7 separate regions of the Homo sapiens genome follow, and all the other regions are linked to region 1. Evidence: promoter capture Hi-C in 16 types of primary human blood cells and fetal thymus (Javierre and others, 2016). All regions are on one chromosome and are shown on one strand. The core of a region is centred on a gene start or on the middle of the fragment in contact, and the rest is flanking DNA. Distances in the headings are between cores, read along the strand shown. Region 1 holds the start of NR2F2 (nuclear receptor subfamily 2 group F member 2). Region 2 has its middle 19 kb from the start of LINC02852. Region 3 overlaps LINC00923 (long intergenic non-protein coding RNA 923). Region 4 holds the start of LOC105370989 (a long non-coding RNA gene). Region 5 has its middle 150 kb from the start of LETR1. Region 6 overlaps LETR1 (lymphatic endothelial transcriptional regulator lncRNA 1). Region 7 overlaps LETR1 (lymphatic endothelial transcriptional regulator lncRNA 1).

Region 1 (4,378 bases), core at 1,658-4,157:
GCCACTTTCTGCAAGAAAATTATATTCCTGGGTGTTGAGTTTCTTTCTTTTCTTTTTTAGATTAGGGCAAATGTTGTCCCAACTTTCTCTAGGCAAATTAAAGCTTGCCATTCTTCTCATTATAATAAATTTACATCTGCAAAAAAAGACTGAGTTGGATTTTTAAAAAACAACAATAATATATTGATTTTATCTTCTCAGAGCTTTTTAACCTTAGACGCACAGCAAGTGAGCATCTCTGGAGAAGACATTTAAAAATATTTTTGCCCTTTTTTCTTCTCAGTCTGTAGTCTTGTCTCTTCTTCTATGCATTAAAATTAAGTATAATTCATACGGTGATTTTTTTTCTCCCTTGTAACAGCATTTCATAACTGAATGAGTCCTAAAATACAGAGTGAAACACCCCTGACTTTATGGCAGCCCTGTGATCATTTGCCTAGCAGGCTCCAATTTGTTAAGATATGGTTGGGAAATTATTCCATTTTAATCTAAGGCCATCACGCATACTTCAAATTCCAAAAATCTCTAAGTGGACTGGGGAAGCTCTTCCTCCTCGATATTGTTCCTTCCCATGTTTGTAAAAGGTAATCTGCTATGGAAGTCTCATTCAGGAGGTGAGATGAAGATTTCCCTATAATCAATTATTTTCATCCTCTATTGAGATGGGAATGCCCATTAGATTTCCTATCTCAACCCCAGTCTCATCACATCTCAGCTGAGCTTGTCCCGAATCTGCTGACATTTGTAACATTAGCAATTCCTGAATCATAGAGGTTGGAAGGGAAAACAACAACAACTACCAAAAACCTTCTCCTGTGTAATGATTTCTTTTCCATCCTTCTTATCCTCTTTAGGAGAAAGTTATATTGTGTCTCTAATTAACCTGAAATTCTCAGCTTGGCTTCATTCTGTGGCAATCTTATTACACACCAGGTTTATGATAGTTCAGTGTCCACTATAGGTTTGCTGGGCTTTTTTTTTTTTTTTTAACAACTTTCAAATAAACCGAGAACCTGCAGCTTTAGTGAAATACGTGATTTCATCGGAGAAAGAGTGAGGGCTGAGGTTTCGGGAATGAAGCTTAAAGAAGATTTTTCCTTTCCTAAAAACCAGCCCCTATCTGCCCAGATCTTTAGTCCTTACCTCATATTCTGCCTATGTGTGTAAAGAGAATTGAATGTAAAATGTGATCTATGCATGTCAATTATATGTATGGTTTATTTTTAAAATATCTTTACCCTGTCAATTTTTTTTTCAGCTACCAAGGATGTTTTCTGTGGTCATCAATTTACTCTTCATATGTGTTCATTTCTTTCCTGGAGCTCAGCGTCTTTTGTGTAAAATATTTTAATTGTTCACAAACCTGGTTGGTTTACCGGCATGAGGTTTTTTCTTGGTGCAAAGTGTGTACAAAGGAGACACAATTTTCTTGTATAAATGTGGAATAATGATAATTCACTAACTGGTCATAAACAACAAGTTTACTGCGTTGGAATATAGTGTGTTCTGAGAGCAATTCTACATGTTTGATGTTTAAAACCAGACACCCTGGAATTCAAAGACACAACTGTCTCAATTATTTTAGCACATGGAGCAGAATGGCAATAGGCTATGAAGTTGTTCTTTTTGCAGTGACTTCTTGAGGTAGAATATGGCTTGGGTTTGGTTCTTGTGACCTGTACTAGTATTATTTCCCATTTGGGGCAGAATCTCTGGGTGCGTTTTAATGACTATATGAATGCTTAAAAGGAACTTGAGGAACAATGAAGTCCGTACTCAACTGTTCTATGACCTAGAAGCATAGTCGGTGAAGTCTTTGTCTGTGTACATTGACAAATGTGCATCTGATACATGTGCGCTTACATGTGTGTACAGAGGGTGTGCACAGGGGAGGCTGGGCGGCTGCCTCCTCCTGTCCATCAGTGGGCAGAGGTCTTTCCCCTCTCACCATGACTGGGTGTGTGGCAGGATGTTGGCTGGAGAGTTAGCTAAAACCAGCGAGAGAGGGTAAAGTTGAGGAAAATTGATTCTAATTGCATCATGACAATCAGATGAAGTCTATTTCTGCTTCTCAGCATCCGAGATGCTTTATTTGGGCAATTAAAATGTCAGGCCACATACCTGTGAAATGTTAACCCTACAAGGAATAAACAGAAACAGAACGGCCTTTATCCTCTGAAAAGAATATATGTCATATATATATGTCACCAAACCGAACAAGTGATCAGAGTTAATTAAGAGAAGGGTTTGCCATCACCCGGATCTGGCCAACTCTTTCGTTTGGAAAATGCCTACAAGCTCAGTTCGTGGCACCTTCCCACCCTCACTCCCTATCCCTCTGCAAAGAAACCAGGGAACTTTTCTTTGGCATTGTGGGTACTAAGATGCGCCAGGAGTCCCGGGTGGTGCGCGAGCGGCGGAATTCGTGACATCGCCAAGTTGCGAGAGGCAAACTCCCCGATTCCATCCAAAGCCTCTCGCGGAGCCTTTAAGAGACGTTGTGTGTGCGCGCTGCGCTAGTCTCCCCGCCGGGGCGGAAACCTCGGGTGCGGGATGTGGGGAGAGCAGAGGCAGCGCTCGCAGGGCCAGCACGGGCCCATCCCCCTCTCGGCGGCGGCGGCGGCGGCGGCGCGGCCACCCCGTCCCCGCCCCCCCAACCCCCGGTCCCCCGCGTGCCCCGCGCCGCGCCGGCGACGCCGCTCGCGCTAGGACCGGGCTGCGCCCGCGGCCGCCATGGCGGGGCCGCCGCAGTCCGGCCAATGACGGCGAGGGGGCGGCGCGCGCGCGCCTGGCCAGGCCAACCCCGGCTGCTGCCTTATAAGGCGCGCCGTCGCCATGGCAACGTGCGCTAAGTTGCAGCAGTCGTGTCAAAGTTCACTATATAGAGAGCTCAGTGAGCTGATCGCGGAGAAGCCACTTCTGCCAGCCCCGGCGCCTATAAATCGCATTCCCTCCCGCGCCCCCCTTTTTAGCATATTTGATCACTTTGATTCTCTGTTCTTTTCTCTCCGCGGTGTGTGTGTGCGTGCGCGCGTGTGTGTTTTCTTCTTCTCCTCCTCCTCTCCCCGAGTTGCCTCCTTTCTCCGGGTGCCGTACTGCCTTTTTTCCCCTCTTTCATTCTTTCTCTCCGTCTTTTTCTCCCCCCTCTGCGCACGAAGGATGTGCTTCTAGGTGGTGATCTGCCCTCCTCTCTCTCTTTTATCATTTCTCCCCCGCCGCCGGCGAGTTGACTCTTTCCCTATGTGTGTGAGGCGGCGGCGGCAGCAGCAGCAGCAGCGGCTCCGGCGGCGGCAGCAGCGGCAGCAGCGACTTCAGCGGCGGCGGCGGCGCTAGACGCAGCGGCTCCGGGCCCGACCCGGCGGCTTCGGCGGCGGCTCCGGCGGCAGCGGCGGCCCGGGCGGCCCGCAGGGAACGGCGAGCGGCCTCCACCCAGCGACTGCGGGCGGCGGCGGCCGGAGAGAGCGAGGCGCGCGCCGGACGCCCGGGGCAGGCGGCGGCGGCGGCGGCCCAGCGCCAGGACGACGCCGCGCAGCGCCCGACGCGGACCACTTTCATGCTGATTCCCCCGGACCCGGGCAGCGCTCCGGCCACTCCGCGGGCCGCCGGCCTCCGCCCCGGCCTGCCTGGCTCCCTGGGCGCGCCCGCACCCGGCGCCTCCGATCTCCTAGTCCTCCTGATTTCGATGGCTTTCCTGAATGGCTGACTGTGGGCTGCCCTGGACTTGGCCCCCGGACAGTCGCCTCTCCTCCTCCTCTACCTCCTCCTTCACCACCACCTCCTCTTCCTCCTCCTCCTCCTCCTCCTCCTCCGCCAACTCCTCGGCTGCACACCAGCTCTAAGAGCGAGAGTGAACGAGAGAGGGAGGGAGAGAGTGAGAGCGAGCGAGATCTTTGGAGAGATTTTTTTTTTTGCCTCCTACTTCTGTCTTGAAGCCAGACAATCGACTTCAGCTCTCCCTCCCCTCCCTCTTTCTCCACGTTCTGCTCCCACTCGCTCTCCTGTCCCCTTCCCCTCCCCTCCCGGCGGAAAGCCCCCCGAAACCAACAAAGCTGAGCCGAGAGAAACAAACAAAACAAACACACCGGGCCAGACAAGCCATCGACAAAACTTTGCAAAAGCAAAAACAAAAAAGGAAAAACTAACCAACCTCAACCAACCAGCCCCCGAGCCACCCGGGGCGCCCTCCCGCGCCCTCTTGCACCCTCGCACACACAAAAGGCGGCGCGCCGGAGCCCGAGACCCGGGGAGCCGCCGCCGCCCCGCCGCCGCCCGCAGCCAGGGGAGCAGGAAGTCCGGACGCAGCCCCCATAGATATGGCAATGGTAGTCAGCACGTGGCGCGACCCCCAGGACGAGGTGCCCGGCTCACAGGGCAGCCA
Region 2 (4,378 bases), core at 1,107-3,606, 1.7 Mb before region 1:
AACAGGCACTCAGTCTCCCTTGGCTCCATTTCTTCCTCCATAACATGCTTCTGTTGAGCCAGATGACATCTCCAGTCCCTCTGAGCCCTAAGGGCACATGGTCCTATGTCTTTTTGAGTTTTCATTCCCAGTCTCCCACAGGAAACAACACAGCGAAGTCGACAACCTTGAGGTAACTTATTAGTTAACTGTGACTGCCCTACCCTTAGAAGAAATGGCACTTCATCAAAGAGGGGAATAGAGTCAACTCCTGTGGAAAATGTTCTGAATGGTGTGCTCATGAATTTCGATCTTTGACTGGAAGCCAATATGAGTGAACAGCTTCAGGACAAGCCTCTTACATTAATCACCTCATGACTTTAACTGAGAAATTGATGAATTGAATTGAATGTATACCTGGGTTCCCGGGCAGCAAAGGTGCTGATGGAACTGGTCTTCTCACCATTTTCTTTGAAAGAGAAAGGAAATTGCACATGGTCCATGCTCACATCCAGGAGACAAGTATTACATTGCTCCTGAAATGGAACCATTCCTCTCTGATCATTGCTTTTCTCCATGGTTATTTCTTAAACATAACTTTGTTTATATGTAACCCCAAATCAAAGAAAACTAAAACACCTCATGGAAAACAAAATTGCCTAAGTATAACACAAGAACAATTTGCTTTTCACTGCATGCAGGGTTGCTTCTCTGCCCTGGCTGGTTGTGAGATACTTCCAGGGAACATGTTTCAGGGTATGAGAATGAGGCCAGTGGCTGCTGATGTTAAAAGGACATGGCATCTGCACTAGGTTGGAGAGGGGGCTGGTTGCACAAATTAAAGTCAAACACATCACAGTCTGATCAGCAGACATGGGCTTGAGTGTGTTGTCTAGGTTTTTTCTTTTCTTTCCTTTTCTTTTTTACTACCTCCCAGTAACAGTGAGGCAATTAAAAAAAAAAAAAAAGACAACTCCATTTGTCTCCTATCATCATTTCTTCTCACCTTCCCTCATCTTGGTTCCTCACTCTATTTATCTGGGAACACAAATTACAATTGAATATGGGAGAAAATTTAAATATAGGTAGCTATTTAATCTGTCTTTGACTCATTCTGGATAACAGAAATTTTCACCCAAATGGAGCTGGAGAATATAAACCCACTGAGGAAAAAAAAAAAAGGCAAGTGTATCGCGTTTGGAACAAAATTAGGTCTCTTACTGCCAAAAATCAGAAAAATATGTTGGGTTTTTTAAAAGACAGATTTAGAATTTGATACAGACACCATTTCGTGTGCTGGAGGATTCCTCTCAATGGGTGAGTTCACCCATGAAGAGCTTTAATTACTTGATATTTTAAAAGAGTTCCCTATTATACAAGAGAGAGAGGAGAGACATTTGTGTGGGAGAAGCCTAAAGCTGTTTGTAGGAGGCAGAGAGTTTAAAAGGTAACATCTTTAATGAACAAATTTTCATTCCCACAGTAAGAAGCTGTTTTTGAAATCTTCCATGGCCTGCTACCAGGGCAGGGGGAATAGCTCCATGAGAAAGCAGGGTTGTGAGTCAAGCTTACACAACCAGTAACCACTTGTTTAAACCAAGCCAAATGACAAACCCCATCAAATTCTGTTTTCGTGGTTTTATTATTATTTTCTCACATTAATTTGTCCTAGAGAACACCGTGCGAAGGTCTCACAGCCCTGGTACAAGGAGGAGCTACCACAAAAACTCAGAGGGGCTGAAGTGGCTTCCTGCTCTCCTTCCGGCCTGACACTTCCTTTGTTCCTATAATCTCAAAACAGCTGTTTCCTCTGGAACCACAAACCCCAGCTGGCGGCCTCTCTACCTCCTGGATCCTGCTGCACATAATGTACATCAAATCTGAATGTTGATATGAAATCTTCTTCTTTTTCCCATCCTCCTCCCTCCCAAGCTCCCCGCCGCCCTCCTCTCATCCTGTATTTATGTTGGCCTTCACTGGGAAGGGGAGGGGAGGAACAGTTAGAAAAAAAGTGATACAAGCATTTCAGATCTTCCAAATGGCAAAGCGAATTATCGAAAATATTTAGAATCTCAGGTATCTCAGGTTGGGAAACATGTTTCCAGAAACCTCCTTTGTGAGACAGAAATTGACAGTCAGCCTTACTTTTTGTTTGCTTGTAAAAATCAGTACCTTTTAATAAACAATATATTAGTTATCTGTAGCAGAAACTGGGCTCTAATTTCACATAGGAGATGCAATGAGCTGTGCATGGTAGTTTTCCCTTGAAAACCATACGATTTTACTAATCGATGTCTTCATTGAAACTTTTGGGTAAAAAAATAAGGAAAAGGCTAGGTTCCACTCAGGAAAAGGTACTAACAAGTTTGGAAGAAACGATACAGAGAAGAAAATAATTGGAGAAAATGCAAGGCTGTATTTGAATCACTGCAAAACGATGGCTTGTTTATCATAGTCCTTAATGTGTTGATGGAATGAGGGGTAAGAAAAAGTCAAAGGGCCTGTGTATTAGGGAATAGAAGGTGGGGGAATGAGGCAATGAAGGCCCATGGGTGGAGGTATACTAGGGTTCTTCAGAGGAACAGAACGAATACGAGATAGATAAGTAAATAGAAAGACAGATAGGAAGAGATTTACTACAGGAATTGGTTCGCATGGTTATGGGGGTCGAGAAGTCCCATGATCTGCCATTTGTAAGATGGAGAACCAGGAAAGTTGGTGGTAAAATTCAGTCCAATTCCAAAGGAAAGTTGGTGGTATAATTCAAAGTCCCCCGTGAGAATCAGGGGGCAGATAGTGTAATTTGTGGTCTGAATCTGAAAGCTGGCAAACTGTAAATGCTGATATCTGAGGGTATAAAAAGATGGATGTTCCAGCTCAAGCAAAAGGCTCAAATTTGTCTGTCTTCTGCCTTTTTGTTCTATTCAGTCCCTCAAAGGTTTGGAGAAGTCTCATCCATGTGGGGGAGGGTCATCTCCTTACTCAGTTTGCCAATTCGAATCCTGATTTCTCTCAAAAACACTCTTACAGACACACCCAGAAAAAATGTTTTACCAGCTGTCTGGGCATTCCTTCACCAGGTCGACACATAAAATAAACCATCACGGGAGGGATGCCGTGTGGGTGAGCTGGGAAAGGAAGTCAAGACGATGGGAAATGACTTGACTAAAAACCTGGAAGGGAAAGCACAAGCTTTGGATTTGGGACAAACCTTAGAATTCATGAGTGCTGCCCTATTAACCAGAGCGCACAGCGAATTCCAGAGAAGGACATGCTCCAGGTCACTGAGGGCCCAGGAGCAGGCAGGAATAGAGGCAGGGCTAGTGCCCTGTCTCTCCTCCAGCATGCCCTTCTGCCTCTGGCGTTTTCCTCTCTGAAGTTTATGTGGGTGATTCTTATGTGGTGTAATGGTTAGAGGCCCGCACTTGAGAGGCAAAAGATCTTAGCTCTTATACTTATTATCCATATGATCTAAGGCAAGCTATTCTAAACTCTACGTGCCTCAGATTTTCTAACAATAAACAAGAAATAAATTGCATCTGACTCCTTCGGCTATGGTGATGATAATCAAGTACTTAACCTAATAGCTGCACAAAGACAACTCAAAAAATGTTTGCTTTATTATAATAATACTACAAACTATTATTATTATTAAAAAGGATATATTTAGGTTGGTAGAAGACTGACTTAGCTACAGTTAATATATTCCCTGAAAAAAATGCAAAGACATGAAATTAAGCAAATAAAGATATCAAAGTGATATTAAAGAGCAATTGAGAACAGATAAGGCTTAACGTGAAAAAGAGAACATTTTGTGCCTTGTTTTGTTTGGTAAATGGACTCTCCAATTGCAAGCTGATTTAACATTTTCAAATCAAAATTTAATACCTAATTAATGATTGACATTTATTTGCATTTGCTATAATTTGCTAAATAATCACAAAACCATAGAAGGTGGCTCTTAAGGATATGGATGGTTGAGTTGGGCTGCCTAACATTGGGTAGTAGTTCTGCGACTTAGGAGCTGTGAGACTATGGGCAAGTCATTTAACCTCTCTGAGCCTCAGTTTCCTTACTGTAAATGGAGATGAAGTTATGGGAAGGGTTGCATCAGTTAATATACATGAACATCTTTGAACAGTACCTGAAACATGGGTGCCCCATAGTAGGAAGAATGATTTTTAATTGATAGTAAATAATAAAAACAATAATTACTAAATGAATAATAAATACTATTAATATATTAAGTAGAGTTTTTATGATAAAAGCATAACTGATTAATTTACAAAGTTTTGGACTACTCTCTCTACTATTTGTACTGGTAAAAACTCTAAATAATTTGTCAGCCAATATCTAGATGTTACTACGTACCAGCTGGCAGCAATCACAGTGATGGGCT
Region 3 (4,378 bases), core at 841-3,340, 1.4 Mb after region 1:
CGACAATGAGGCTGAGGTTGCATTTTAACTGTTTGTATTTTATTTTATTATTTTATTAAGCTTACACCAGCTTGCAGATCTAAATGAGATCACCTAGTCCCATTGTCAGCAGGCTCCTGTCACATACTGAAAGCAACTGTGGCCTCCTGTGGTTGAGAGTGAGCCCCCAAGGAGGGAGATTTACTGAAACTGAACGGGCCGAGAGAATGCATCCTGTGAGGCAAACTTTCAAGAGCTATTTCTCAGCCAGGCATTGATCTGGGAAGGCAGGCTTGGCCAGACAAGCCGCGGAGGCTGAGATGGAGGTTCCCGAATACTCTTGGATGCATCAGCCTTATAGGGACATCTCCAAGCTCCTCTGACACTTCAGTTGTAAATGGGCTGATGTCTAAAATCAATTTTTTCCATAATTCTTGTTACTGTCCAAGACTCTTTGAAATTATCTGAATAGCCTATTGTGTTTTTACAAGGATCAGATTGATAGGTTTTACAATCCATAAACAAGCTAAATATTCTAGGTATCAAATCTCATACACACACACACCCCTCTCTCCCTATCAATAATTTTTTAAACATGGACAAAGTAATAGATTGGATACAAAACTGCACAAAACAGTCTGTGTTCATCCCTCTCCAGCAAACTCTATGATACATAGAAACAATGAGTCTTTTTAAATTTCTCGATTTTGGCACGATTGCCCAGGATTGGCCACAGAGATGCCCTGACCTGGTTTCTCTTAGTAGGTTCACTATGTGCAAAGTCCTTTCCTCTGTAAGGCACTGCCTCTACCAAATGGCTCAGCTCTGGTCTCTATCATTCTGAAATCTCCTTTGTCTGCCTGGGCGCTGCCACAGTCTATTGGAAGGTATTTGTCAACAATTATATGTCTATTAAAGAGTAGTCAATCAGTGTGGGCCCAAACAGCCAGGCCTCTAGGGTCTAGCTTTTGATAGGAAACTGTCAATATCCCATCCAGTCCATTTCTCAACAAACACACAGTCACCTACCCGAAATCATTGTCGGAGAAACAGGGAAGGCCTGCTTTCATTGCTAGGTCTCCGACTTCTTCACTTTCTGATCTAATGTTCAGTTTGAATAAAGAGAAGCCTTTAGACTTCTGCTGAATAAAAGATGTATATTAAAATGCTATGTAAACTGAGTGCGGGTAGATATTTAATACAATTAAGAATATTATGTGAAGACTGTACGTGTAGGTGGCTGCAATTATTCCTGAAAATCATAAAACCAGAAGAACGTTAATAAAGGATACTTTAAATTAGCTTGACTGTAATTAATATCTATAAATACCTTCCATTCCACAAGCACAAAGTTGAGAGTTATTTACCCAATTTAAGACAAAAGGTTGTGATAGTAGCCAATATAGCTTCATGTATGTTCAATTTACAGAACTTACTGCAGATTTTGTAATTATTATTATAAAGGGCTTGTCTTTTCTTGAAAGAAGAAAGACTGGGAGTTCCATGTGAATGTTTAAAACTAAAGCCCCCCCAAGCAAAAACCACAATGTAGAGGACGGGGAGGGGAGAAGAAAAGAAAGAAAGGAAGAAAGAGAGAAAAGAAACCCGAAGTAAGGCTGTATCCTTTGAACTAGCAACTCCCCTGCATCACAGAGTACACTAGTTGTCCTACAACAAAAGACGGCATCAAACTCTCTCCACAAAGGCCTGAGACACCCAACAATATTTAAAGCAGATGTAGTATTTAGCATCTCTGCACTATGTAAGACGCCCTTTTAAGATCTGTTAGAGCCAGGGTTTATAAAATTTATGAAAACAAACGTTTTCTCCTTTCCTTCGAATGTTTCCCTGGGATTTTTGGACTTTCAATGAGAGAGATATATAAACGCCAAGCTGGCTGTCCCAGAGTTCAGGTAGCACACGATTAAATCCGGAATTAATGCAGGAATAGGTGTGCCCCTCGGACTGAGCTTCTTTTTATTGTACTCCTTCCATTTTCACTAAAGCCAAATAATTCAGATCTAGGGAAAGAGCATGGAAAGGTCAAAATGAAGCCCAAATGTCCAGTAGAAGTTTTATAAGTTGCCATAAAGATATAAAATAAAAATTAAAAGTACTGAAATAAACTGAGATGCCTCCGGTTTCATGTAGAGTTTTTGCCCATTTTATTTCTGCTCTTCAGAATCAAAACAAAGTAGATTCAAGGTGCATGTTAATCAAATTACCTATGTCCTATCTGAAGAGTGTCCCCAATCCCCCAAGAACTTGGAAATCCTTTTTGCATTTTATGACCAGAACTTCATGGCATTTAATGCATATTTAGTTTTGCAGGTACTGTTGGTGTTCAAATCCACTTATAGATACTCAAATCTAATCTACCATGTAGATGTAACGTAGACCTGCAGTTCATTTTAGATGCTCGGAGCAGGGAAATTATAAATGGACTTCACAAAATGTTCCAAGAGCATTAATAGTGAAATGGACTGGGTCAGGAACCCAAGTCACAAAGGGTCTCTGAGTAGTTACTTCCCCAGCAGACGGCCATCGTTGCAAGGGGCAGCTGATCTCCTTTTTTGAAAGCTCCATTATGTGTATTTACAAAATAAACAATGCATGCAAGTTCATGATTGTCATCATTAATAATAAGCATTATAGCAAACCGTTAAATAAATATACATGCCATAGATGTCTGCCAGACCCATCACTCCTTTTTCTCCTACATCAGATCCAAGGCATTGTCTTTGTTGAATTAAAAAAAAAAAATCACTCTTCATGAAACAGCAGCAACAACAAAATAGAATCATTATTTAAAATAACTCACCAATGTTCAAATGCTCGGATTTTAAATCAGATAAGTCAGCAAGTTCAGAGTTGGGGTGAGAACTTGCTCTCATTAGTCTCACGTTTGCAAGACGCAACCACAAGCCAGGAATGTAAAATGTTCTCAGTGCTTCAATAATTAACTATTTTTCAAAGGAAAAGACAAGTAAATAATATGATGTTTTATGAGTTCAAGTTGAACAACTTGTGTGCTGTGCAATACTTCTATCATGATACTCTCCAAAAAATTGTTTTATGAGCATAATATTTGCTTACTGACAAATTCTGTCACATCAAGAGATTTTTTTAAAAAAACGCAACGTACCTTTGAGTTTCAATTTGATAATCTAGAAATCAGTATACAACTGTTCAGATATCTTAGCAAGTTTCTTATTTAAAGCAAGTCTCTAAAAGTTTTACATTACATGTTCATTAAAGAAGTACATATGATTCCAGCCTCTCATTAAATAATATTCAATTTTAAAAAAAAGAAAGCAAGAAAAAGTATTCCTTAAAGCAGTACTTAACTGATAAAAATTTATATATTAAAGAACTAATGCTTGCATGAAAGAGCTTAAATTTTACTTTGTTACATTTTTAACCCATGCAGAAACACTGAAGCAAGAAAAAAATGTACAACATATTTTTATACGTTGTTTCTACACATATAGGAAGAATAATATATGTGTCTGTGTGTGCTTGCGGCCTGTGTGTGTGTGTGTACATATGTATATAAAATAGAAAAAGAACATTAGCGTTATTTGCTAAAATAAAAAAGAACATTTAGTCCTGTCTGAGTTTTTCCTTTAAAGGGTGATATAAAGATTTTGTAGGGAAAATTCATAGATGACCATTAGTTATGATTATTTTACTAGCTAAAGAAGAAATTCTTTGATAGTTCTAGATACCAGCACGTTACTTTCTTTTTACATAGAGCTTTTTGTTATGGGAGTAACAAGAAAAATTTTCAGACATTCGTTTCATAATTCTTGGCCAAATTTCCATCAGCAGAAGAGCAAATTTGTTGATGACTAAGCAGAGATTCAGAAAGCCCAGGGACCTGGCGAGGGTCACACAGCCTTTCTGTGATAGGGCGTTGATCTCCCAGCTTCCATTCACTCCATAGGGGAGTACAACTCTGTTCATGGATCCCATCAATTGAAATAAAAACGAGAGCGAGAAAGAGAGAGAAAGAGGGAGAGAAAATGAATGGGAAAAAGAACGTGCTTGAATGGACTGTATGGTTTGCATGAGACTCGTGCAGAAATTGATATTTTGCCTGTTTTTTTTGTCTCAGAGATAATCTTAGAAAATGTCTGCCTAAGCTTCTATCAGGGGTGTCCCAAAACTTGGAAATTAGCTTCTCACAGTCCTGGAGAGTCCCAAAATGTTAGCAAATTAAAACAATTTGTCTCCCTGGAAGCCCGGGGTATATTCACTGCTTAGAATTGAAGAGGAATAAGGGACCCACATGTGCTTTTGTGACTAACTGCTCTCCACAAACAACTTTTTAGACAGGCAGCCAGCCTAAATACGCTGCTCAGAGTTAGATGGGAAAAAGGTGTTGCTATGCTAGATA
Region 4 (4,378 bases), core at 781-3,280, 1.3 Mb before region 1:
ATAATCTCACTTAAATAAGCTTACTTGTGATAATGAACTTTAGATTCAGCATATTTTCCTGTAACATTTGAAATTGCTAATAAGTCCCTAAAGCTGCTTTATACATGAAAACAAATTAAATCTGACTCTTGTAAATAAATTGCACCAATATATGAGATGTTCCAAGATACAATGTTTTTAAGTGCTTTTTTCAAGGGAGTCCTTTAGGAATGTATGATAAAGGATGTAAAGTTTGATGCTTTTTTTAGCCTTAGCAAAGCCATTTATATTTGGAAATGCCATTCTGAGTAGGCTTCTGGAGTAGATGTGGCATCTTCATAGTGTTTTTTTGTTTTGTTTTGTTTTTTAATAGCCTGCATCCATGGATAGGAAAGGGGCACAATGCTGAGAGCTTTTCATCTAACATAGTAGTTACTGGGGATAATAAACCTTTTTCCATATTAGGCCCTGGAGAACATGAACATGAAAAAGTATATTCAAGGGAATTTATCATTTGTATAATTGATCAATTTAGCACATTTGAAATGTTTGTCATATTAAAGAAGGAGAATCCTTATAAACCTGGAATTGTAAATGTTTTTCAGAAAATCCCATGTTTAATCAGTCATTGAAATGATGCATTAAATTTGAATCTCCTTTAACTTGCATGACATCATGGCCCATGCAAGAGAGCTGAAATTAATCAAGATAATTCTGTTGTATGACCTACTTTGGCATTTTCATCTGATGGAGCCAGGAAATGGGCTGGCTAATAGTCCATTCTGGAGTATTCTAAGATCTTAGCAATTCCATATTTAAGGAGGTTAATAGGATACTAATTGGGGCCTAGGTGAAAAGTTCACAAGAAAAATGAACTCACCTGGATATGAGGAGTATGCACAGCCCAAAGCCCTCCCCTTTACAATGGCTCTTCCAAATGGTTTCACCTCCTAATTCAGAGAGAAAGAAAGCTCGCACCTTGGGAGACTCGCACAGCCAGCATTCTGTCTCCTGGTCCCTGGGTAACAATGGCTGGCCACATGCCAAGGTTGCAGGCCATTAGCAAGATCAGCATTCTGCCTCTGATGAAACGAAAGTAAAGGAAAAAATTCCAAAGGGGGAAAATAAGTGTCAAAAATCAAACCTTTGTAAGAGTTGTTATGAACTTTTAAGAAAAGCGCATGTTGTTAAGACTTAAGAAGTTCCAATGTTTAAAAATCAACTTTTATTCATCACTTTTGCAGAAGTAAATTAAACCACGTTTTATTGTTTATTTTTTCAACAAACATATGACAATCTTGGGCTTGGGTCATTGTTATTGACTAGCTAGTGGCTCTATTCATCAAGACCAATAGGGAAGATAATATTCTTTCTCAATTTTCTCTCCTGTAAATATTTGCAATAACTCCTGGGTGACTTGGAAAATTTATCAACATAAAATGCAGTGCTCTGAAATATTGCAGACTCTCTCTGTTGCGTTATAGCCCCCCTGGCAATGTTAGACTGTCCTAACGATGTCTCAGCATTGTCATTCCTCACCTTGTTCTCATTATAGTGTACCCATAGATGGCACATTGTGCTTTTCTTAATATTTTCTTAGCCTTTTATGTACAGAAAGGGTTAAGGATTTTTCTACCATAACGGCTTATGGCATGTCTTTCCATCTCTCTCTCAGTGTGCAGTCCATCTTCCAAGTTTCCAGAAGCGGCTGAGATTTTTAAAAACAGCTGTAATCTGCGGTCATTGATGGTGGAGTAGATTGTTTGCCAAACTATTACCATAACTGTCAACCGAAATCAGAAAAATAATCTCATTGTGCTGGACAGATGCGTTTCCTGCATTATTGATATAGTCACTCTGGAGTAATAGAGAAATATAAAGCATTGTTCTATTTACAAAAGGAGATTGGCCAAGTCCTTGAAAGTGAGTATGAGGGACAGGCACTTACAGGAAGTGAGATATAGTCAACTCAGTAAAAGTTATGAGTCAGGGTCAGGTGACCTCTATAGTCAGCAGAAGAATCTCAGTGCTTTCCCTCCAGTCTCCCTCCTCACTTCCAGGCCGGTTTTGTGGTTTGCTCTCAGTCTGAAGGTGTTCTCAGAATTTCTAAATACAGCCCTGTGGAATTTGTGATGCATGCTTTATCCCACACCCCAACAGTTGCCCCGAATATGCAAAATGTTCTAATGGGTTCATTACACACCTCTGGGTAGCAAGTGAATTGCTCTAGACCACTACATTGCAGAATAATTGAATTTGTTTATTTCAAGCAGATGACCCTCAATATCCCTCTGATGCAATGAGTTAAATATACCTTATGCTGAGTGGCTTTGCAAGAACGGTCAGTAGTCTTGTACGCTCAGCAATTGCTCCACCATAATTTGAGCTGTGAGTAATGCTGTGTGATTCTATTTGTTGAGCATACATACCGTGAAATACTAAGCACACCACATTTATTATCTCTAATCCACAGAAAACAAACTCCAAGGCAGGGATACCTTTTTAAATTTCCATTTTGCTGCTGAAGAAATAGATGAAAAAGGCTCTATAGATTTCCCAAAGTGACAGAGCTCTTAAGTAGTTGATCCAGGATTCGAACCTAGGCCTGACTCTGGAGTCCATCCCTGCTGGATCATGCTCCCTTCCATTTTATTGAGATATAAGCAGAAGTATATTATGCATTGGAATATTTATATATATTTAATGCAGCTCCCCCAAATATTTATAATAGCTCTACACACACACACACACACACACACACACACACAGAGCCATTTTTCTTACGGACAGATAGCCATCTTTCTTATGGAAACAAAGGGCAAAATCATCTCTGTCCTGCACTAAAGGGCATTTAATGAGACTGGGGTGGGGGTGGATTGGCAAGCAACCTTCTTAGCTCCTAAATACGTGCATCACAAGCACCTAGACTTTAGCAAGATAGTGCCAGGTGTCTCTGAACAGTAGTTCATGAATTCTGGCAACTCCACTCTGAGTACAAGGCAGAGGGCCAGGAAATCTAAATTCTAACCTGGGCTAGTCAGAGCCTCTGTGGTTTAGTTTTCTATTTATGAAAATGCATAACCCTGGCATACTTCTTAGAAACAGCATGCCAGTTCATATATAAGCATCCCATCAATACATTGTAAGCAAAAATTCCTGTGAAATATTGTGTAGTGTCCATAGTGGAAACTTAAATTCATATTAAAATTAATGGCCATATGATAATTAATTCGTGTCCCAAAGATCTGCTATTGTTGCTGTTTTTTTCTTTTGTTAATTACGATGTCCACAGAAATGGTTCAGCATTTTGAGATTCTGAGAGAAAAGTGACAGGGAGTATTGATGCAGTTGTAGGGCCACGTAGCACTCTTGTTGGGAGAGTTGTTGTATTTATGCTGTCTTTCTGGTCTGGGGACTAGGAAACAGGCGCAAGATGTATGCTGAAACTGTGTCTGGGAAGGGTAGGCTGTGGCATAGGATGAAAATCTTGGGCAAGGAAAATCTAGTCCTTCAGGGCCTAGACTATCATCTACACTTTTGGTTCAGATGTTCTGCACCCCACCAACCTGCCACCCCCATCCTCATAGAGGAAGCACAGTTCACTGCTCCACCTGGGGAGGCCCAGTTGCGAGAACCCTGCCTTGGCATCAGCCCACCTGGGTTCTACACTGGGATCGTGTTGAAACCCACAGCAAGAATGTTAACACATCACTGCCCATCTTGAATTGTAGTTCCTCAGCTGTAAAATGAAGGAGCTGATTGAACTGAGCTTCAAGATCACTTGCAGATCTGAGATTCAATGATTCCCCAAAATAACATTATATGACTCTTCTCAAATTATTGATTTTAATTCCTCCCTGGGTGGTGATGGTTTTCATCCAGCTGACGGTCCTATTTGTCTTGTACTCTTGTTTTGCCATCAGGATCCCCTGAAATGCTGGGCACACTGACTAGCCTCTTGTATAGAGTCTCAAGCCTGTGGCCAGAAGCAGCTGTGTGAAGTAGCCGCTGTGATGGATTGGGACCACAGATACCACTTTGGAAGGAAAGGTTCCAGAAACCAAAGCTTGGGCCATGGGTCTCTGGGAAACTGCAGCAGGTATGTTCTGCCTATCTGGCTGCTTTCTTCTTGCTGATCTATTGTTTTTCAGATTGAGAATTGGTTTTCCTGAAGCAAGAAAATAAAATAAACCCCACAAGTCTGAAGAGCATAGAGAAGAGACAGAGGAGCCATAAGCAGGGAAGAGAAAAAACACAAACTGATGTTGTATAAAAATAAATGAATAAATAAATAAATAAATAAATAAATCTTCAAACAAGAACCTTCCCCCTCCCTCCTACACACATCCTTTTCTCAGTTGCACACTGAGGTATCTTTCCTCTCTTCTCAAAATATCTT
Region 5 (4,378 bases), core at 1,313-3,812, 1.2 Mb before region 1:
AGGCATCTTAGGCATTTATATGTTTGTTTTGTTTTATGCCAAGGGAAGGCTTGGATAACTTGGATGTCAGAAGATCTCCTCTCATGTTCCCAGCTACTGTCCTAGAAACCAATCTACCCGTTCCATTAAGACAGACCTCTGGGCCGGCTGCGGTGGCTCACACCTGTAATCCCAGCACTTCGGGAGGCCAAGGCGGGCAGATCACCTGAGGTCGGGAGTTTGAGACCAGCCTGACCAACATGGAGAAACCCCATGTCTACTAAAAATACAAAAATTAGCCGGGCATGGTGGCAGATGCCTGTAATCCCAGCTACTCGGGAGACTGGGGCAAGAGAATCTCTTGAACCCGGGAGGCAGAGGTTGCAGTGAGCTGAGATCACACCACTGCACTCCAGCCTGGGCAACAAGAGTGAAACTCCATCTCAAAAATAAAATAAAATGAAAAAAAAAAACCCTCTGGTTCTTCTGGATCTAGACTGTGGTTGTATGGTTGTCTGAGTAAGACCAATGTAGGTATGATTCGCCTAAACAACCTACCACAAGTTAAAAAAGAGCAGCCTTTAGGCACAAAGACCCAAGTCTTAGGGAGTCTTTGAAAGGAGAAACCAAAAAATACCTGGGTATGTTACTTAGGAATTATAACATGCCCAGGTATTTCATTGCCCAGTGGAAAAGCCTAGCCATCTTGTGTCCCAGCTTCAGTTTACTCCCATTCCCTTTATCCCAACAAGATTACCCCTAACCATGCCTCCCATTTTAGCTTCCCAGGTTGCTGCTTTCTCTCTCTCTTTCCTTAAGGTTCACATCTGACTCTCCTCTAAAGTATGGATTAAGACCCACATTATCCCTTTGCCTGACTGATTCTGTCGACTATGAGACACGATGCTATGACAGGAAGTACTCCGGCTTGAAGTTAACTGCACTACGGGTTGAATCCTGAAATCCTGACTCAGTAGCATTTTGTCTTTGCCTCCTTTGCCGAGTTTTCTAGCTTCATAAAAATGTCAATTCCCCCATCTCCCAAAGGCAGGGAAAAACTGAAATTACATAGATAATATCAGATGACATATCTAGATGGACTTGTAGTTGGTGCTCATTAAATGTGAATTCCTCACTGTTTATAGGCACAACTTGTTTTATTGCACCTCACCTTATTGCGTTTTGCAGATATAGCATGTTTTTTACAAACTGAAGGTTTGTGGCAGCCTTGCATTGAGCAAGTCCATTAGTGCCATTTTTCCAAAACCATGTGCTCATTCTGTGCCTCAGTGTCAGCGTTTTTAACAATAAATTATTTTTTAATCAAGGTGTGTACTTTTCTAGATATAATGCTGTTGCACACTTGATCGACTACAGTATAAAATAAACATAGTTTTCATATGTACTGGGAAACCAAAAAATTGTGTGACTCTTTATTGCAATATTTGCTTTATTGCAATATTTGCTTTGTTGCAGTGATCTGAAAGCAAACCTGCAGTACCCTGAGGTCTGCCTGTCAATGCAGAGCTTACAGATGCACCTTCTTTTGCTCTCCACTTCCTCTATGAAAGAAATGCAGAATGTTTTTCTTCTATGCCACTTACTATGGGAATCAGGCACTTAATAAACACTGCTAATCAACAGGATGGAAGAATTAACTAATAAATCCCTTCACAGAAGCATGCCAAGTTTTACATGATGGCCAATACGTGACCTCCTTGGGAGACAGGGCAAAAAACTGAAGTTTCTCTTATTGGGGAAAGTTTCTTCACTCTTCTTCTTCTTCCTCTAGTAATAATAATATAATTAATTAGCATGGAAACTTCTTTTAAAAAGCTTCCATACACACTGATGAGAAAAATAAGTTTACTAGGAATAAAGCAGGGTCCAGAAGTATGAAAGTATTTATTTGAATGGTATCATTCCCCACCTCAGGGAGGGTATCTGTCATGCAGGATTGGTCTGGATAAGTAAGCTAAGGGTTGAAGTGAGTTCAAAAGAGCTGAACCAGGCTGGAAACACAAACGCAAGCTGTGAACATCACCTGGAGGAGCTCAAAGCACTTCAGTTCTGGTTCTTTCTCTAGACTTTAGAAGAACAAAGGTCACGAAATTTATTATTGGCAAGACTATAAATGTCTAATAAAAATTACTTGATTATGAGCTTTTTTTTTAAATTTCAGGTTTTACACAAATACCTAAGCAGAGAGTCTTAGATTTTTTCTTACTTTGAACATACTCCCCCATTTTCCTGGCAATATATTTCCATGTTTCTTCAAAAAGCCATTCAAGAGTACTTTAAGTAACAGTTTTAAACCTCCCCCTGTTAAGAAAATATATAAAATTGCTTAAGAGAAATGAGATCGCTTTCTGGCTCCTGTAACAATTGGGGATGATGTTTAACAGCAGAAACCCAGTGGGAGTGCTCAGTCTAAATTCTGCACAGCCATGTCAACAACCAAATTCCTAAGAATTTCTTCCTCATTGTCCCAGTGAGGCCGCAGCAGGATCAGCTACTGGCTGGGCTTTTTGGACACCACCCACCCCCGGCAATTTACAGCTAGCAAAGAGCTGTAGATGGAGTGACAGCTGCCCATGCCAACACAGTCACACAGGACAGGGCAGCTTTCCTACACCTGACTGGGCCTCAGCCTCATGGACAGGAGTGACATTACAGAACGTGCAAGGTCTCCAAACAGCCCTTCTCCTCCAGGTCACATTGTCACCTTTTTTGCTTGTGCCAAAGTCCTTCCCAGATGTCTATGCAACGGAAGTAAAATTTATACTCGTGGAGCCTTAAAATGCTGACATTCCATGTTTACAGGGATTGTTTACTCAGAAAATTAATCAGTTACGGTTTTAAATTTTAATTAAATAATGTTTTCCGGTGTTATTGCAAAACAGGCAAAAGCCCATAAAATGTATGTTTGACTGCTGTTGTGTGTTGTCTTTGGATCAAGGCACAGTCTTGAGATCAATCATGCATGATATTTTTGTGAACTTTTAACAGGACAAACTTTCACATAAATTTGGTTCATTAAAATATGTCCATCAAAATAAAAGTCATTCTGAGAAACTCTCTGGAATTTCCTTTTTCTTTCTAATCGGCAACAAATGATTTTGTACTTGTCCTGTAAATAAAAATATGGGAGGGAGGTAAGCAGACACTCAGTTGTGCAATAGACTGCTCTTTGCCAATGAACCAGAAGTAACTTCATAGGAAGTTATCCATTCCACTCACATATTGGTCAAGAGAGAATTATTGGTTCAGTGAACATTGGCATGGTGAAAATATTTTGGTTCCAGATGGTGATGTGTGCGAGGCATATTCTTAAGCTTTCTCGCATATTTTTCCATTTTATTTCTTCTTTACCTTGTTTTATTTATCTGATTATAAAACAAATATGTGATTCTGATACAAACAAGGAGAAAACTACATGAATTAAGAGATTTAATAACCTCCCTCTTAATAAATATGATTAACACATCTCTATTTTTGTCAGTGCATCTACTAACATCATTTATGTATTTATTTGCATAAAACTGTTACAAATGCCAAATAGCTCACCAAATGTGCATAATCTTTGTCCACGGAGGCTCAAAATCTAGTCCTAAAACTACTGATAATAGTTACTATAATATCTCAAGTTAAAAGAATATATACTAGCCAGGAAAATTTGCAAAATCTTAAAACCAAATTGATTTATCACAGAATATTTACCAGTATAAAAAGTATAATATTACATCTGTTTTATGTTATATATTGCTTAATGACTCTATTTTTAATTTAGTTTTCTTATGTTTTCTTTTTTGTTTTCGTTTTGTTGTTGTTGTTTGAGATGGGGGTCTTACTTTGTTGCCTAGACTGTAGTACAGAGGCATGATTATAGCTCACTGCAGCATCAAACTGCTGGGCTCAAGGAATCCTCCTGCCTCAGCCTCTCAAGTAGTTAGAGCTATAGGTGTTTGTCACCATACTTGGCTAATTTTTTTAACTTTTTTTTTTTTTTTTTGTAGAGATAAGGTCTCACTATGTTGCCCAGGCTGGTCTTGACCTACTGGCCTCAAGGAATCTTCCTTCCTCAGACTCCCAAAGCACTGGGATTATAGGCATGAACCACCATGCCTAGCCCTTTTTAAGGATTTCGCAGTGTATCCTAGAGCTCTTCTAAGGGCAGTACACATAGCACAACGTCATTCCTTTTCAATATAACCTATAATACCATTGGATGAGTCCTCTAGTCATGTCTCTACCTTTTGAAAAACAAATCTTTTCACATTGGCTACTGAGTCATTTGGACATGACCCTGGCAGTCTTTTATAATCTCCTTGATATCTGGTATAACAATATGTTCTAACACCATTTTGTATATTTCCTATGCCAGTCATGTAATCAGCCA
Region 6 (4,378 bases), core at 1,363-3,862, 1.1 Mb before region 1:
GTTCAAGGCACTGGAGATGAAGCAGACAGCAAAACATTTCCCAGATGCCAAGCTGATTGCAGAGTATATCAGTATAGTCGAGATGCCTCTAAATCCTCCCATTCTCTTACTTCAAACCTACTGTCTTGAGATCTCTCTAGTGAAACCTAGGGGTCTATGTGGAGCAGGCATGAACCATAGATACAAATATGGTAAGAAGACAGTTTCTCTCCTCTAGGCATTCCCAGTATGGGAGAGCCATATGCATATAATTCATTGCAGGAGTGTGTTAAGACCTTTCATAGAGACACAAACCAAGCATTCTGTAGTTATATTCAGAAAATATTTGAAATTTGCCTAGAGAAGTTAAAGAATAAGTAACTCACTTGTTTTATGTAAGGATAAATTGAGACACAGGATGTGAAAACATTTATTAATTGCATCATTGATATAAACATGTAAATATATTTTTGCTTAGTAATATATTTGAATATATATTAACAGATATATATGATTTTCTAATATCACATATATCTTATACACAGCCAAGTATGTTTCAAGTTCCTATTATCTGAAAGGATTAAAAAATAAGCTCCAAGTTGCTCAACAAATCAAATAAATTTTATATTCTGAAACTAATAGGCCACTGCATTAAAACATTTTGATAAGTATAATTACATTTTCTCTGATCTTTTAGTATTCTCTTACTTGGTGTGTGTGTGTGTGTGTGTGTGTGTGTGTGTGTGTGTGCTTGTGTGTGTGTGTTTCTGGCTTCCTTCTTTATTAAAAATCCTCATTCCTATTGTTTGTTTGCCTAATGTATGTAAACAAAAACTCTCTGGTTAAGCCCAATTAATACAATGTAGATTAGCATTCATTACTTACAAATTAAAATTATTTTTATTTAATTTATTACTAATAGGCCAGAAAAGCACCATTTATTCTTTTTAAACTCTTAAGTTCGCATTTCACTTGATTTTTCGTGCTAGTCTATAATGAGTAATACTTGTACTACAGAACAGAAGGATTCTGGAGAAAGATCCTCCAACTATTCTCCATCCCCCACAGATGCTGTGGACATTTGAGTAGACTTTTGTACACCCCAGCGGAGTTTTTGACTCACTCCCCACTCACAGCACCATCTGAAAAACAGCAACAAAATCATAAGCACAGAGAGGTTTGGACTTCTAATGCTACCGCTGAGTATTATCCTTACCCTTGGAATGTTCATTTTGACATTTTTATCCCTAAGTCATTCACTACTAATGTAAACATGAGAGCTTGTTAAAACAGTTCCCTGAGCTGCCCTGCTGGAAGCTTCTTTCAGGCTGGAGAAGTCATCTCACTGCATCTCTTTCTAAGCCCTGTTTTGGTCTCTGAGACTCACTACAGCCTGACTTCTTACTGCAAGCAGTACATTTCGATATGAAGTCTCATCAAATGCTTTTCTTTGATGGGGTACAGAATCCAGCATGTTTCCTGGCTGAGAACACTATAATATCTGCAGGGAACTTTCACAAGTTCGTTAGGCAAGACCTTCCCCATAAATCTAGCAGTTGGCTTTTCAAGGTGCTCTTTAGCTAGAGCCCACTGCAAACATGTCGAGTACTTCTTTTCACACCTGATTTCTTTTCAGAGTCCATGAACTCAGCAACTGGTGAAGCCACACTTGAAAAAAATTTAATGTCACTATTCAGTTGGTTGTCAGTTACAAGGCCTGAAATTCTTCTGGGGGCATCTCAAGATGCCTCACTCTGATTCATTGTCAAGAGGCATTATGGGTAGCTGAAAGACTGAGCTTTGGAGAAAAGGCTGTCTTGAGGCTCAATTCTGACTTTGCCACTGGAGACTTTGGGGGAGTTATTTAACCCCAGAAGCTCAGTTGTTCTCATACACACACACACACACACACACACACACACACACACACACACACACATATATATGATAGTACACACTATAGTTAGTGTAGATCTACGATTATTGTGAGGACTAAATAAAATTATGCATAAAGAGCCCAGCAGTCGTAGGCCCTTAATTAAAAAATAGAAAACACAAATCTATTAAGTAAACTTTCTATAGGAATTTGCTTTTTAAATCAGCAAACCTCCTACAGTCAGTTGTTTTTCTTTAAGTTCTGTCAGCATGAGGCTTTTGGAAATGTCCCTAAAGAGCCTCTTTTCTCCTTCTATTACCTTGAAGTTTGAAGTGATAGAAAGTTTTCATTGAGAAAAGTAAGGCCAGGTTCTCAGGATGGCAATGGTTTCTACCAATCAGACCTGAAATATATGCAAGTGACATAAAATGGGCTCTCATTTTACATAATTAATCGCTCTCTATTTTAAACCTAGACTATGTGGCCAGCTTTCTTTCACTTTACACACCACTCCCTTCTTTCCAGCCATCTTTCAGTGTACTAAGAATAGTCATATCCTAAACCTAAACTGAACTGGCCTCGGATTTTTTTCTTTATACTCTACAGTCTTTTCACTGCTCTAATTCTCTATCATGCCAGAATGTTATAAAGAAGGCATTTGTTTATTTGAACTAAGTCAATGACCTTTTCAAGCATTTTCATCATGAGTTCCATATTACATAGAGTACCTTCTGTGCATAATGAACAAATAGGATCAAATTCCGGGACCTTATAGGATAAAACTACATTTCCCCTCAGGTCTTCAACTTTTTAAGGAGATTCTCTGCAGAACAGATAATGTTGATATGATATTATGGAGACATATCATGACAGGGTAGCATTTTGTCGCAGCGGTGATGTCTGAACTTCAGAAGATCTGGATTCTGAGTTTGAACACACTGCCAAGAATGTGGATTTCTTTTTAAAGCATCCAGATGTTTTATGTCTGTAGAGCTAGGCTTTTGGAAGCTGTTTATTTGTTGGTTTATATCAGGACAAGAAAGAGTACATTGCCTTCTTGAGTCTCACTCAAGTCATTTCCAGAGTCTGAGAAACGTACCACACCTTCAAATACCTATTCTTGATTCTTTAAATGTTTTGTGTTGGACTTTGGTTGACGGTATCGAAGCTAGATTTATTTTAAAACAAACACACATTTTATTTTAAGCAAAGTCAAAATGTTAAATGCCATTGCATACAAATTAGGGAATGGAATGGAGGACTGGAGGGATTATTAGAAACTGACTTTTTATGACCTTGATATTTCCCCACAAACACCAAAGGGAAATCAACCAGGAACTTTATGTCCTTCCGCCTCTGTGTGCTTAAATGTGTCACGTGTTAGAGCTGTCTCTGTCATCTGTATACAGCTGCCTCTGTACGCAGATTCCACGATGACCATCAGTGATGGAGACTGGATTATTGAGGTGCAAGCTAATTAACTTTTGATTCATTTTTACTATCATTTATCTAAAAGAGTCACAGCACCGAGGATTTGGCTCCCATGGAAAGATTATGAACCACTTCACTCAGCTACCTTACTTCTGGAGATATTTGACTAGCTTTAGGTCATAAATAGAAAAACTTAGTGTTTCCATTTGGCAATTCATGTCCCTTAAGAGCACAGGTTTTTGACTTCGTTGACTGCTGTGTTCACAGTGCCTAGAAAAACACAGCCCATGCCTGTTGCTCCTAACGTATCTGCTCAGTGAATGACTAAATGCTTCAGACCAGTATTACGAATTGCCTCCATTTTGAGCATGAACATCAGATCCAGATTATCCAAATCACAAATTTTGTTATTGTCTGTTTGTGTGTTAAGATGAAAAATAGACTTTCCCACAATGATGAGTGAATTGTTCATAGAAATAGTTTGATTACGAGGAAGAGTTCTGTACTTGAAACTTCATGGCAGTGGCGAAGATGTCTCTCTCTCTGATGAGATCCCTGAGAAATACCATGAATTGGTATCCACCTTCTTACATATATTGGAATCTGTTCATACATTCAGAGTAGGCACTTTCCCAAAACATTTTAAGCTTTTATGTGTTTCTGTTTGTTTTTTGAGACAGAGTCTCACTCTGTCACCCAGGCTGGAGTGCAGTGGTGCAATCTCAGCTCACTGCAACTTCTACCTCCCGGGTTCAAGTGATCCTCCTGCCTCAGCCTCCCAAGTAGGTGGGATTACAGACGTGTGCCACCATGCTCAACGAATTTTTGTATTTTTAGTAGAGATGGGGTTTCACCATGTTGCCCAGGCTGTCTCGAACTCCTGACCTCAGGTGATCTGCTCGCCTCGGCCTCCCACAGTGCTGGGATTACAGGCGTGCGCCACTGCACCCAGCCATATTTTAAGCTTTTAAATGTTGTGCTTCATTATTTGATCCATGGGTTGTCCAGAGAATAGAGCAGAGTTTGGTTCAATTATTTTGGGGTAGGAAGTAGAAGGCACAGGAGTTATTTATGGTAGTGGCTTTTATTTTG
Region 7 (4,378 bases), core at 746-3,245, 1.0 Mb before region 1:
GGTGATTCAATTTGTTATTGGGATAAAAGTATATTTCAAACTATTTCTGTAAGAACAGAATCTCAAAATACAAATGTTATTTTGTATATTATTTACAAATTCCCAGGCTATGAGCTTAATTTATGGTCATCTGCAAAAGGTAGAAAACAAGGTTTTGAGTTGAGTCTCAACTTGCCTGTCACTAAATTGTACAGAATAGATGGTAAGATGGATTCCTTGTGAGACATAACTTTGCAAGCCCCCAGGCAGGAAATTCACCCACTAGGACTTGGGAGTCACCCAAGTTGTATTTGTGCATCCCTTAAAAAGCAAGACTGGGCCGGGCATGGTGGCTCACGCCTGTAATCCCAGCACTTTGGGAGGCTGAGGCGGGCGAATCACCTGAGGTCAGGAGTTCGAGACCAGCCTGACCAACATGCAGAAACTCCGTCTCTACTAAAAATATAAAATTAGCCAGGTGTGGTGGTACATGCCTGTAATCCCAGCTACTCAGGAGGCCGAGGCAAGAGAATCACTTGAACACGGGAGGCAGAGGTGTGGTGAGCCTAGATCATGCCATTGCACTCCAGCCTGGGCAACAAGAGTGAAACTTTGTCTCAAGACAAAAAAAAAAAAAAAAAGATTGCAAGACTTCCCTTTCCCTAGGCTCATCAAAAAAGTAATTAAAGTAAGTGTATGTAGCCGGGTGTGGTGGCTCACGCCTGTACTCTCAACACTTTGGGAGGCTGAGGTTGGCGGATCACCCTTAAGTCAAGAGTTAGAGACCAGTCTGGCCAACATGGTGAAACCCCATCTCTACTAAAAATACAAAAATTAGCCAGGCACAGTGATGCACACCTGTAGTCCCAGCTACTCGGGAGGCTGAGGTAGGAGAATTGCTTGAACCTGTGAGGCGGAGGCTGCAGTGAGCTGAGATTGCACCATTGCACTACAGCCTGGGTGACAGAGCAAGACAATCTCTCAAAAAAAAAAGTATATGTATAAAATATGTGTATATAAGTGCGTATACAGATATACCATATATAATTTATATATATATATAAATACATACATATCTTATGTATGTACATTTATAAATATCTGTAAATGCAAAGAGGCTCCAGATTTACCTTTTGAATAAAATCCAGAGTCACTACTATCTTAATTTTTGCATGAGTTATCTGCAAAGCAAATGAGAAGTAACTAACAATTTATTTAAATAGAAAGAAAATCCCCTCTGCTATTTATTATAAAACACTTCATTAATTTATCACCGGAGTTATTGTCTCAAACTCACTAATGTCTTCTCTGGGCTACTTTTCATAGATTATTTCTTGTACATTTGCAAGACGTTACTGAGTCCCAGGCAATGTCCCAGATGATCAGGGCATTTGTGGTACCTGGTATTTGGCTTCTATACCATGCTCTATAGACTAGATGGGGTGTGTCAAGGAAAGGATGTCTCCATTTGCCTTTGTCCTTAAGAAAGTGAGTAACTGTCTCTTTCCTTGCCTATTTCTTCCATGGAGAATTTACTGGCCCCAATTTAAAAAAAAAAAAACTCCTACCACACTCCCATTTTCTGTAAGTGCAATTAGTTGCAGGTACAAAATTTGGAGCAAAGAGGCCTCTCGTGGCCTGTTGTGCCTGCAGTTATCCAACTGTGGCTGCAGTTTTTCAGTGCACAACTGATTGCACCCACAAAAAGAAAGGCTAAACTTTGAAAATGGGTCCCTTTAAGACAGTTGGGGGATTGCATGCCTCCGGTTGGCAAATTGCAATCTTTTATAGAGGCACAGCCATCACTCTGGCTCGCACTGCCAGTCTGAAATCCAGGTTAGGCATCTTGCATGAGGGAGAGACCTGGCTGGAGAGCAGGTGCACAGGACTCTCTCCTCTCCGCCCACCACTTGCCCCCCTTTCACCTTGAGCTACTCATGGACTATGCATTAGTATTCAGCATTCCTGACTCCATCTCCTGTTTAGTTCACCAGTCACTCTCCAAAAGGGTTTGCAGAGAGAAGCTCAGTCGGTCACACTGTCAATATAACACATTTAACCAACTCTAAATTTGCTTTAAAGAGACAGCTACCAAGATTGACTTTTGCAAAGTGACTCACTCCACCACGCGGCAAAGCCGTCCGTTTGCTCTCGACTGTTAAGTGTGTCACTGAGTACATAAGAAAGGGTTTTGAAGGAATTCCAGTGTGAATCCACTAATTCAATAATCCAATACCATAAATTCAAGTAATGGATATTAATACTATGTTCAAAACACGCTCACAACTTTGATATCTCTCTTTCTCAAACAGACAGAGCATGCGTCGTGAGAGGCTCCTGATGAAATAATAAAACCCAATTTTCATCTAGAAACAAGAATCATTATAGGAGGATGGTAATTTACTTTATATGACCTTCAATTGATTATTCTGTGGCTGCCACACAAATATCACAGGAGCTATTGATCGTAAAACCTACCAAATAGATCTCTAATAGCTTTTACTGGGCAAAAATAATTATGCTTGCACTGTGGTCAAACACACATAAACCAATGTGGAGGTATTAATATATGGCATTATTACCCATCTGTCTGCTAGGCATGGAGAAGACCCTTCACGGGAACACTCTATGTCTAAGCTCCATGAAAGCTCAATATCCAAGCCAACAATTACAGCCAGTTACACAGAAAAATTGATTACCGTAACTAAAAGCTAGAGCTGGAGAGTAGAGGCTGCAGCTTGCTTAAGAAAAGTAAAATAATAACAAGAGAAATCCTAATTGAGGGGGAGTCCTGCTGCAGTGACTACCAGGACTCAGAAATTGCATTTCCCTGTGGTGTCAGCAGCCGAGTAACTTTTCAGAGTCAAGAGCTTTCTATCCAGCCTAGATCATGATCAATGATCAACACTCGTAAAAGGTCAGGGTGTCTAATCAAAGACCAGATCATCTATCTCTCAAGGTAAAGCGTACAACATAATCCAGAAATGTGGCGCTGCTGGCCATGGAGAGTGAGAAAATCCAAGGGAAAGAGAAACTTCAGTTCCACTTTGGTGAACAGGAAGAATGTTCTGCTCATACAAAATGTGCAGCCAGCCTTCTGCGGGCGATCCTCAGTGGCTCAGGTGGGCCTGAAGGGGATGAACAAAGGCCACGCTCTGAAGGGGGAGCTTCTCCAACATGCTGGGCTTCCAGGTTCTGATAAAAACATTTTAGACTTCAAAATGTCACAGCAAGTCTATCACTTGCTCTCCAATTCCCGAAACTCAGTATTTTAAAAAATAATATGTAAATATAAATGCACCAACAGCAAATAACAAAAATCCCAAACTGCTATCGAGGTGTTAAAATGAGGAGTGATACATTTTAACAACCAGAATGAATACACTAAAATGCTAATAGAACTGAGTAGTGGAAAAGAAACAAAAAGAGAGATCTTGTTTACCCAATGTGGGTTCTGTGCATATGCTTGAGTGGAGAGGGGAGACAACTGTGGGATGGGGGCATAAGTATATCCTGTGAAACAGAACAGAATACTATCCCAGGAATCCCGTTCATATATCTCATGAAATAGAATCAAATAATATCTCATGTAGCCCATGAAACAGAACAGGATTGGAATGCACAGCTGGATGGCTGCACATGCCAAGGATTGGAAAGGTTTTCCCAAAATACCTATGTCTAACCCCAAAGTGCTTCTGCCTCCACCACACCCCAGACCAATCAAACCAGAGTATTAATTTTGGCATTTGTATTTCTTAAAACAAAAAACAAAAGCCTATGTGAATCTCACATGAAGACAGGTTTGAGAACCACTAACTTTAAAGGGAGAGACCCTTTTTAGGGAAGGGAGGTCCTTAGAGATGAGGAACCTCCGGTTTCCCAAGGGCACCTCTCCTTCTTCTGCAGAAATACAGCTCGCCTGTTTATTTCTCTTCCTTTTTGGCATTAGCAGTTCCAGTTGTTAAAGGCAGGAAAACTGGAGTCATTGTCTCTCTCTTTTTCATGATTTATGACTCAGAAGCAAGACAGGGGCAGGAGGTTGGAGGGTAATGCTTGCGGCTGTGGTTGCTGTTATTTTTATTTTGTATTTTTCTTAAAGAAAATAAAAGAAATATGCTTTTCTGAAAAATCTTGAAGCCTTGAAGCCACCTGCAGGGCTGTTGTTTTCCAAGGCCTTGCACTTACGTAATTGACATCTACATAGACACACTCCTGGAACATATCGGGGGAGGCAGGCATTCTGCTTGTTCTCATTTGTTCTCAAATTACATGATAAAATACATGTTTTGGACCTTTTAAACCAAAGGGAGTTATTGAGCCCGCTTACAAAATCCATAACATGTTAGCAGGACTTATCTAGCTGCCTCCACAGAATAGCCAAGCAACTCTACACCCGCTT

The links. Contacts are between HindIII fragments. The CHiCAGO score rates a contact against its expected background, and 5 or more counts as called.
Region 2: a fragment that was not itself captured here is called in contact with the fragment with the promoter of NR2F2 in region 1 in 1 of 17 cell types (endothelial precursors); the score reaches 8.5 in endothelial precursors.
Region 3: a contact is called between a fragment that was not itself captured here and the fragment with the promoter of NR2F2 in region 1, in 4 of 17 cell types (M2 macrophages, M0 macrophages, erythroblasts and 1 more). The highest score is 9.1, in M2 macrophages.
Region 4: a contact is called between a fragment that was not itself captured here and the fragment with the promoter of NR2F2 in region 1, in 1 of 17 cell types (endothelial precursors). The highest score is 8.8, in endothelial precursors.
Region 5: a contact is called between a fragment that was not itself captured here and the fragment with the promoter of NR2F2 in region 1, in 1 of 17 cell types (endothelial precursors). The highest score is 5.2, in endothelial precursors.
Region 6: a fragment that was not itself captured here is called in contact with the fragment with the promoter of NR2F2 in region 1 in 1 of 17 cell types (endothelial precursors); the score reaches 5.3 in endothelial precursors.
Region 7: a fragment that was not itself captured here is called in contact with the fragment with the promoter of NR2F2 in region 1 in 1 of 17 cell types (endothelial precursors); the score reaches 10.3 in endothelial precursors.

What each region holds. Positions count from the first base shown.
Region 1 is chr15:96,327,793-96,332,170 of GRCh38, forward strand. NR2F2 (nuclear receptor subfamily 2 group F member 2) reads left to right here and starts at 2,908. Exons shown (of 3, transcript NM_021005.4): 1 at 2,908-4,378. The coding sequence starts at 4,314. RefSeq lists a silencer at 2,661-2,800. The HindIII fragment of the contact is 6,805 bases long and covers 1,079-4,378 here.
Region 2 is chr15:94,605,704-94,610,081 of GRCh38, forward strand. No RefSeq gene overlaps it. Among named protein-coding and RNA genes, the nearest start is that of LINC02852, 19 kb to the left of the region's middle. The HindIII fragment of the contact is 1,625 bases long and covers 1,545-3,169 here.
Region 3 is chr15:97,750,109-97,754,486 of GRCh38, forward strand. All of the region lies in intron 1 of LINC00923 (long intergenic non-protein coding RNA 923), which reads right to left. Among named protein-coding and RNA genes, the nearest start is that of LINC00923, 120 kb to the right of the region's middle. The HindIII fragment of the contact is 4,064 bases long and covers 59-4,122 here.
Region 4 is chr15:95,017,142-95,021,519 of GRCh38, forward strand. LOC105370989 (a long non-coding RNA gene) reads right to left here and starts at 985. Exons shown (of 2, transcript XR_932645.2): 1 at 860-985. LOC105370991 (a long non-coding RNA gene) reads left to right here and starts at 1,776. Exons shown (of 12, transcript XR_002957693.2): 1 at 1,776-1,902; 2 at 3,903-4,078. The HindIII fragment of the contact is 4,026 bases long and covers 18-4,043 here.
Region 5 is chr15:95,172,004-95,176,381 of GRCh38, forward strand. No RefSeq gene overlaps it. Among named protein-coding and RNA genes, the nearest start is that of LETR1, 150 kb to the right of the region's middle. The HindIII fragment of the contact is 1,499 bases long and covers 1,814-3,312 here.
Region 6 is chr15:95,276,256-95,280,633 of GRCh38, forward strand. LETR1 (lymphatic endothelial transcriptional regulator lncRNA 1) reads right to left here. Exons shown (of 4, transcript NR_034095.1): 4 at 3,033-3,841. Among named protein-coding and RNA genes, the nearest start is that of LETR1, 49 kb to the right of the region's middle. The HindIII fragment of the contact is 2,637 bases long and covers 1,295-3,931 here.
Region 7 is chr15:95,321,898-95,326,275 of GRCh38, forward strand. The region is part of intron 1 of LETR1 (lymphatic endothelial transcriptional regulator lncRNA 1); the gene reads right to left. Among named protein-coding and RNA genes, the nearest start is that of LETR1, 3.0 kb to the right of the region's middle. The HindIII fragment of the contact is 4,883 bases long and covers 1-4,378 here.